Linked DNA regions of Homo sapiens: all the other regions are linked to region 2. Evidence: promoter capture Hi-C in human tissues and cell types (Jung and others, 2019). All regions are on one chromosome and are shown on one strand. Each heading gives the region's core, a stretch centred on a gene start or on the middle of the fragment in contact. The rest is flanking DNA. Distances are from core to core; before and after follow the strand shown. Region 1 holds the start of ADSL (adenylosuccinate lyase). Region 2 holds the start of FAM83F (family with sequence similarity 83 member F). Region 3 overlaps TNRC6B (trinucleotide repeat containing adaptor 6B).

Evidence for each region. Contacts are between HindIII fragments. The study calls those that stand out against the background at their distance.
Region 1: a contact is called between the fragment with the promoter of ADSL here and the fragment with the promoter of FAM83F in region 2, in 3 of the 25 tissues and cell types used here (IMR-90 fibroblasts, aorta and lymphoblastoid cells).
Region 3: a fragment that was not itself captured here is called in contact with the fragment with the promoter of FAM83F in region 2 in 4 of the 25 tissues and cell types used here (H1 embryonic stem cells, IMR-90 fibroblasts, dorsolateral prefrontal cortex and 1 more).

What each region holds. Positions count from the first base shown.
Region 1 is chr22:40,345,146-40,347,845 of GRCh38, forward strand. ADSL (adenylosuccinate lyase) reads left to right here and starts at 1,355. Exons shown (of 13, transcript NM_000026.4): 1 at 1,355-1,566. The coding sequence starts at 1,414. RefSeq lists enhancers at 870-1,383, 1,384-1,897, 1,898-2,410 and a silencer at 1,608-1,697. The HindIII fragment of the contact is 18,864 bases long and covers 1-2,700 here.
Region 2 is chr22:39,993,674-39,996,373 of GRCh38, forward strand. It overlaps FAM83F (family with sequence similarity 83 member F), which reads left to right and starts at 1,281. Exons shown (of 5, transcript NM_138435.4): 1 at 1,281-1,858. The coding sequence starts at 1,370. LOC124905155 reads left to right here. Exons shown (of 2, transcript XM_047441700.1): 2 at 675-1,095. The coding sequence ends at 1,095. RefSeq lists an enhancer at 996-1,629 and a silencer at 1,204-1,323. The HindIII fragment of the contact is 11,866 bases long and covers 1-2,700 here.
Region 3 is chr22:40,259,847-40,262,546 of GRCh38, forward strand. TNRC6B (trinucleotide repeat containing adaptor 6B) reads left to right here. Exons shown (of 23, transcript NM_001162501.2): 4 at 1,986-2,327. LOC124905121 (a long non-coding RNA gene) reads right to left here. Exons shown (of 2, transcript XR_007068107.1): 2 at 1-522. Among named protein-coding and RNA genes, the nearest start is that of TNRC6B, 83 kb to the left of the region's middle. The HindIII fragment of the contact is 8,779 bases long and covers 1-2,700 here.

The sequences.
Region 1 (2,700 bases), core at 105-2,604, 350 kb after region 2:
CTAGGAGTTAAGTGCAGGTGGAGAGGGTGCAGGCACCCGGCTCTTTTCGTTTGTTTTGTTTTTGAGACAGGGTCTCACTGTTGCCTAAGCTGTAGTGGCAAAATCATGGCTTACTGCAGCCTCAACATCCTGGGCTCAAGTGATTCTCCCACCTCAGCCTCCCAAGTAGCTGGGACTACAGGTGCACACCACCATACCCAGTTAATTTTTGTATTTTTTGTAGAGACAGTGTTTCATCATGTTGCTCAGGCTGGTCTCCAACTCCTGGACTCAAGCGATCTGCCCAGCTCAGCCTCCAAAGTGCTGAGATTATAGGCGTGAGTCACCGTGCCCAGCTGAGACACCTGGCTCTTACAGCTCCAGATGAACCCTTTCCTGTGTGATCACCCCACTGGCACTCCAGACTGAACAACATAGCAAGACCCTGTCAAAAAAAAAAAAAAGGGGGGGGGCCACTTGAGTGTTTCTATTTCTATTTATTTATTTAATTCTTTTATTTTTTGGAGACGGAGTCTCGCTCTGTCGCCCAGGCTGGAGTGCAGTGGCGCGATCTTGGCTCACTGCAACCTCCGCCTTCCGGGTTCAAGAAATTCTCCTGTCTCAGCCTCACAAGTAGCTGAGACTACAGGTACAGGCCGCCATGCCCGACTAATTTTTTGTATTTTAGTAGAGACAGGGTTTCACGTGTTGCCCAGGCTGGTCTCAAACTCCTAAGCTCAGGAAATCTGCCTGCCTCGACCTCCCGAAGTGCTGGGATTACAGGCGTAGGCCACCGCAGCCGGCTCACTGGGGGCGCAGTAAATGCCGATTTCCCTTGGGTATCTTCATTTCTCCTTAGAGCCGAGCTCGGTGCGCCGCGGGCAGGAGTGGGTGGGGCGACAGTAATAAGAGTAACAGCAAGCGTACACACGGCCTTCCAAGTGTGCCAGACACCGCTCTAACACTGAATCCGCACAACCCGAAAGGCAGGCCTTTTTTTTTTTTTTTTTTTTTGCTTTTTGTTTTTTAGAGACGGGAGGGTCTCCCTGTGTTGCCCAGGCTGGTCTCGATCTGTCGGCCTCAAGCGATCCTCCGGTCTGGGGCCCCCACAGTGCTGGGATTACAAGCGTGAGCCACCGCGCCCGGCCAAGGAAGTCTTAATGTACCTCTTTTCAGACAGGAAAACTAAAGTGTAGCGCGGCTAAGTAACGTAGGAAGCATCAATCATGTTTCTGGTCAAAGAAGCGAACCAAGTCAATTCTCAGGCAGAAGCAGCGGAGATTCTCCGCAGCCGGCAGCGCCCAGGGCGCCCGGAACCCAGAGAGCGAGACCGCGTGAAGGAAGTCCCGCCCCGCCCCGTCCTGCCCTGGCCTCCAGGTTTCCGCTTCCGCTCTTCCCTGGTCCAGTCCACCCTGGCGGGGTCGCAGGGTTGGGATGGCGGCTGGAGGCGATCATGGTTCGCCCGACAGCTACCGCTCACCTCTTGCCTCCCGCTATGCCAGCCCGGAGATGTGCTTCGTGTTTAGCGACAGGTATAAATTCCGGACATGGCGGCAGCTGTGGCTGTGGCTGGCGGAGGCCGAGCAGGTAACGGATCCCGGGCTGAGGGGCTGGGCCGGGAGGGACGGGCCCGCCCCAGCACGTGCCGGGCTCTGTTCCGGGCTGGGCTTAGCCACCCCGGAGCTGCGGCCCGGCTATTTTCAGCTGGGTGTTCCCTGTCCTGAGGAGCTGCGGCCCCAGGAAAGCAAGGGCAGGAGATCCGGGAGCCGCCACCTGTTGCCTCACGTGTTCTCAGTCCGAGAGGGTTCGAGACGCGGAGGAGGCTGGGAGAAATTCAGCCTGTAGTTTCAGGGAATTCATTTTGGCCATCCCCGCAGGAGTACGCTGCTAACCACAGACACCGAGCGCTTGTTTCGTACTGTTGTGCTCATTATTTCACTAATCTTTTCTTGTGTAATCCATGAAGATCTTGCAGGCTTGATGGTGTTTTTCCCACATTGCAGGGGAGAACAAAGCCCGGACAGCTTGTTGTTTGCCCTAGCCCATCCAGCTATTAAGAACGGAACTGGGATTTGAACCTGGGTGCACTCCAGAGCCTGAGCTGAGCACGTAGCCCCTTGGTTTTCCACAGTGCCTGTGTAGTTAGTGACAGGACTGGAATGCTTGTTTTCTAGGCCACCGTTTCTGCCTCACTGGCCTCCGCTTTGCCTCTTAGGAGAAGACTCCGGGTAGGGGTTTATTAAACGGGGTTTATAATTTCTTTTCTAAGGGCTGCATAGAGAACTTCTTAGCCCAGCGGTTTCAGAAATAGCTCCAGAAGAGTTGAAGCAAACTGAAGGTGATCCAGAGAGCGATAATGTTTCTCCTCAAGTTTCAGAGGAAAGTGCCACAACGAGCAAGTTGGCAATGCCCTCTCAAACGGCACAGTAAACATGGAAACAATTTGACTTCGGGCCTAGGACCTGTACCATGGAACTCTCCAAACAGGAAACTTTCATTCTAGATTCCCTCCCTCCCCTTATCACTGCCCTCCAAAATATTGGGCGATACACTACAATAATAGCAGACATTCAGATAGTGCCTTCTGAGACCCAGGTCTTAACCCTTTACACATGGTTGCTTATTAATCCTCCAAACAACCCTGAAGAGTAGGTATGAAATACTATGACTGTACCTGTTTTACAGATGGAAGAATGAAGCATCAACTTAATAAACTCTTGG
Region 2 (2,700 bases), core at 31-2,530:
ACTCTCATTTTTTCCAGAGCATGAAAGGAAGGCCTAGAAATGGTAAGTGACCTTTTCAAATCCCCTGGGGTGAAAACCAGGTCCCCAATAACCTGTCGTTTCACAAGAAAAGGAGAAAGGGTAAAGGCGGCCGTGATGTCAGCGAAAGACCTCCAAGACAGAAAACCTTGCAGTCCCCGTGCTCTGCCTCTTTCACGGGAGACCTGGGCAACGCACACGTTGCTAGGCCTCAATTTCTTCAACTGTAAAATGAGGGGGTTGGAGGAGCTTGAAAAGCTCCTTCCAGCTCTGAGATGCTGCGCTATAAAGTGAGAGAAATGTGAACCTTTAGTTGTTATGATCTGAAAATATTTTGAATGTGGAGAATCAAATTGTAGAGCAGTGCATGAACAACATAATATGTTAATGACTAAGACGATTGTATTTAATCCGATGGGAAACAGCAGAGCTGCTGCCACCGCTGCTGTGTGTGTGCGTGTGTGTGGTGTGCACGCACGTGCGGTTTCCTTCCTTGAGCTCAAACATACATTTTGAATCACTAATATAGTAATCATGTCTCTGGCAGCCTATCTTGCCCAAACACACACGGAGAGACACCACACACCCTACTTCAAATTAAGGTGGGGGCGGGGGGAATTCCACTGCTGCTCTTTACATCATTTCTGTTTGGATAGCTATTTTTTAAAAGAAAGTTTTACAGTGAAGGTGTTGGACTCCCAGCCCAGAAGGGCTCTGATCTCAGAACTGGGACGCAAGGGTGGGGAGCTCGAGCTCTCATTAGCATTTCGCTTTTGCACACCCCCTGCCCGCTCCTCAGCCGTCACAATCCCGTCCTGCAGCAGGCCCCCCCACCAACACCGGACCCTCGACGGGGAAGGGGTCAGCTCGGCGGCCCCAGAGGCCACTGGGCCAGAACACGTGCTCCGGACTCCACGTGCGCGGAAAATGAACTCGTACCCGCGACGCGGCCGGCGGGGGCGGATGGCAGCGAGGGCCGGACAGCGAACCTTTACCCCGCGGAGGAGTCGGGGCCGGAGCCCGCACGTGGGTCTGCGACGGCCCCGCCCCCTGGGGGCGTCCCCTCAGGGACTCTAGCCCCGGCTGGTGGGCCCTGCAGGCCCGGGCCCGACCGCGTCCGCCAGGCCGCCCGGAGGTCCCGGCGAGCCCGGCGGAGGCGGCGGCCCCTCCCCGCCCGACGGCCACGCCCGCGCGGATTGGCCGCTCCCCGACGGCGGGGCGGGGCGGGACGGGCCGGGGCAGAGCTCGCGGCCAGGTGAGGCGCCCCGCCCCTCGGCGGCTCCAGGTGCGGCTGTGGGACCTCGGACCGCGGCGGGGCCGGGGCCAGGGCCGGGGCCGGGGCCGGGGCGCCATGGCCGAGTCCCAGCTGAACTGCCTGGACGAGGCGCACGTGAACGAGAAGGTGACCGAGGCGCAGGCCGCCTTCTACTACTGCGAGCGGCGGCGGGCCGCGCTGGAGGCGCTGCTGGGCGGCGGCGAGCAGGCCTACCGCGAGCGGCTCAAGGAGGAGCAGCTGCGGGACTTCCTCTCCAGCCCGGAGCGCCAGGCCCTGCGGGCCGCCTGGAGCCCCTACGAGGACGCCGTCCCCGCCGCCAACGCCCGGGGCAAGAGCAAGGCCAAGGCCAAGGCCCCCGCGCCGGCGCCGGCTGAGTCCGGCGAGTCCCTGGCCTACTGGCCCGACCGTTCCGACACCGAGGTGCCTCCTCTGGACCTGGGCTGGACGGACACTGGTTTCTACCGCGGCGTGAGCCGGGTCACGCTCTTCACCCACCCGCCCAAGGACGAGAAGGCGCCGCACCTCAAGCAGGTGGTCAGGCAGATGATCCAACAGGCCCAGAAGGTAGGCCCCCGCCTTCGCCCCCACACCGCTGGGACCTCGGCCCCAGTCCCCTGGACCGGGCCCCACCTCCCAGGCAGGGCCCGGGGCAGGCCGCCCTGAGCACCCTCTGGAAAATGGGCCCCAACCCGCCCCTACTTCCTGGGGCTGCAGTGAGGCCTGTAGAGCGAATGGCTGGGAACGTGTTTGGCAAATTACAAGGTGCTGGACAGATGTCAGCCGTCGGTATTCCAGCGTTCAGAGGCACTGGCTCTGCTCTGTACTTCTGAAACTTCCCTGTCCAGCCTTCCTCCCCAGGGAAGACTGGGGGCCGAGGCCCTGTGGTTAAAATGCACCACTCAAAGGTCTTGATGATAACCTACGTGCTGCCCAGAACATATCCCGAGCCGCTTTCTCATGTGATCGTCAAAACAACTTCAGGGAGTGGGTGGCGGTGACCTTCCCGGTCCCACCTCTGCCATGCTGCTCCTTGGACCACCCCTCTCCTCCCATAGTCAAAGCTGAGCTGGCGCCCTCACAGTCACAGCCTCTCCTGGGCCGGGTACTAGGCCCCAGCTGCCTGGAATGAATGGGGGACGGGGTATATTGAGGACCTACTGTGTGCCTGGCCCTGTGCTGGGCGCCTTGGCACAGCAGGTCACCTGACTCGGCAGCTCAGGAAAGGGCTCCTACTTAGCATATGTGTCCTGCTTGAGAGTTGGAAGGAGGGGCTGTTTCCAGGGTGGCTGGTGAGGCCAGTCCACTGTGGAACAGGTGGAAGACTTTAATCTTTATGCCTTTGGGTGGGAGTCCTGGGCAGCTTCCAGATCAAATGTAGGATGCCCCACTACATTTGAACTTTCAAT
Region 3 (2,700 bases), core at 146-2,645, 270 kb after region 2:
GACGTTACCCTGGGAGGCAGGGATTTGGGCCTCAGAATCATCCGAACTGTCAGGCTTGATGATTATTTCTGTACGACTTCCAGCCTCTATTTGCCAGGTAGATTTTTATGGAGAGGGTAGTGATCTTCTGGCAGCATGCAGCGAGGGAGGTACAGATCTAAGAGAGCCTTCTCTGTATGTTCGACGGGAAGAGCCAGAGGGTCCGGCAGAGTGCGGTTTCACGGTTGCCCCGACATTCCCACGCTGTGTGCGGGCCATTTTTAAAATTAAGTTTAAAAAAATCAAATGATTTAAAGTAAACAGAAAAAGTATTTACATTTTGAAATTTCTATTTTAAAGAATTGGGAAGAAACACTTTTTTTTTTTTTTAAAGAAAAGCAAAAAGATTTGTAACATTTCTAGTATTTACACAGAGAGCGGTGCAAGTCTTTGAGTCCAGGTAGCTGTAGAAACCAGAACCAAGCTGAGTTTGTGATTTTCTAGGCCTGGAGTTTCTTGTAAGAGTCCACTCTGTGCCATGCCCTAAGGAAGAAAGAAAAGATGAAAGATGGGTCCTTGCCCTCAGGAAGTCATGGCCTGGTGAGGGAGAAGGACTTGTAAATGGAGAATTTCTGTGATAGAGAGAGATGGGACTTGTAGATGGAGAATTTCGGTGGTAGAGATAGATGGATTTTTGAATGGAGAATTTTCATGGTAGAGAGAGATGGATGATGTGTTCCAGGAGCACTTAGGAAGAATGTTTAGCCCATCTAGGCCAGGGGCTTCAATAAAGTTTACTCAGGGGTAGATCTTTTAAGAATGTGGATGAAGGGAAGGGACCCTTGGACTGAGGCTTGAAACCTTTCCCAAGGACTTTGCCATGGACATTTAACTCTTCTAGGCAGCACTTCAGGGAATTAATTCCACTGTTGATTTAGGGGAGTGAATGTTGATTGCTTCCCTCTCCGCCTTAATTAATGGAATGTATTCCATGACCTTGCTGTGTTTAAATTCTTGTCACTGTCAGCCGCCACCTTCATCCTACCTTCAGCAAACTGGAGAGATTGTGGAGAATTTGGAAAAACTGTTTCCCTTGAGAGTAGAGTAAAAGGAGAAGTTACTTTGTTAGAATTGGTACCATGTAAGCTTTCTTACAAATAATCTTAGCCAGGGTCTGGGTGTGGTGGCTCACACCTGTAATCCCAGCACTTTGGGAGGCCGAGGTGGGTAAATAGCTTGAGTTCAGGAGTTCGAGACCAGTCTAGGTAGGCAACATGGCAAAACCCTGTCTCTAGAGGAGGAAAAAAAAATTAGTTGGGCATAGTGGTGTATGCATTGTAGTCCCAGCTACTCAAGAGGCTGAGGTGGGAGGATCACTTGAGCCCTGGAGGTAGAAGTTGCAGCAAGCCAAGATCACTGCACTCCAGCCCGAGTTATACAGCAAGACCTCATCTCAAAAAAATAAAAAATAGGCTGGGTGCAGTGGCTCATGCCTGTAATCTCAACACTTTGGGAGGCCAAGGCAGGCGGATCATGAGGTCAGGAGTTCAAGACCAGCCTGGTCAACATAGTGAAAACCTGTCTGTACTAAAAATACAAAAAATTAGCTGGTTTTGGTGGTGGGCGCCTGTAATCCGAGCTACTTGGGAGGCTGAGGCAGGAGAATTGCTTGAACCTGGGAGGCGGAGGTTGCAGTGAGCGGAGATTGCACCACTGCACTCCAGCCTGGGCGACACTCACACTGGGTGACAGTGTGAGACTCCGTCTCAAAAATAAATAAATAAATAAATAAATAATAATCTTGGCCAGGCACAGTGGCTCACTCTTGTAATTCTAGCACTTTGGAAAGCCAAGGTGGGAGAGTCCCTTGAGCCCGAGTTCAAGACCAGCATGGGCAACATGGCAAGACCCCATCTCTAAATAAAATAATAAAATTATTTTTAAAATTTTTAGAAAAAATGTATTTGATGTATTTCAAAGACTGTTTCCCAACCCCTCTCTTTTAGTGCCCGAAGTGACGAAACCAAGTTTAAGCCAACCAACGGCCGCCAGCCCAATTGGCAGCTCTCCATCGCCACCAGTCAATGGTGGCAACAATGCCAAAAGGGTGGCAGTGCCGAACGGACAACCGCCAAGCGCCGCCCGCTACATGCCTCGGGAGGTGCCGCCGCGATTCCGTTGCCAGCAGGACCACAAAGTGTTACTAAAACGTGGGCAGCCCCCTCCACCGTCCTGCATGCTCCTTGGGGGTGGGGCAGGGCCTCCTCCCTGCACAGCACCTGGAGCAAACCCAAACAACGCACAAGTGACAGGAGCGCTGCTGCAGAGTGAGAGTGGGACTGCGCCAGGTAAGGCACCCTGTGAATCGAATGCATGGCAGCTTGACAGAGAGAGAGCACTTTGTTTGCATTGCTTGATGTAAAGTCCAGGAAAGCCATTCATTATATAAACCACTGGGATTAGTCAAAAGATGAGAGAGGATCCTAGTATGCGATGTGTATTGGTGATTCTTGGAACTGAGGTTTAGTGTTCCGTAAGTGTGTGCTCTTGGCATAAGGGCTAACTTAACTGCTGTTGCTTATTATTTTGGGGGCCTTTTTTCCTTCTCAGACTAGAGTGTTACAAATTTGAGCCTCCATAGTTCCACCGTCATATGTGTTCAGGGCATAATTGGACATGGGGCTTGTGCGAAGGCGAATCTTTAGATGCCTGTGTTATGTT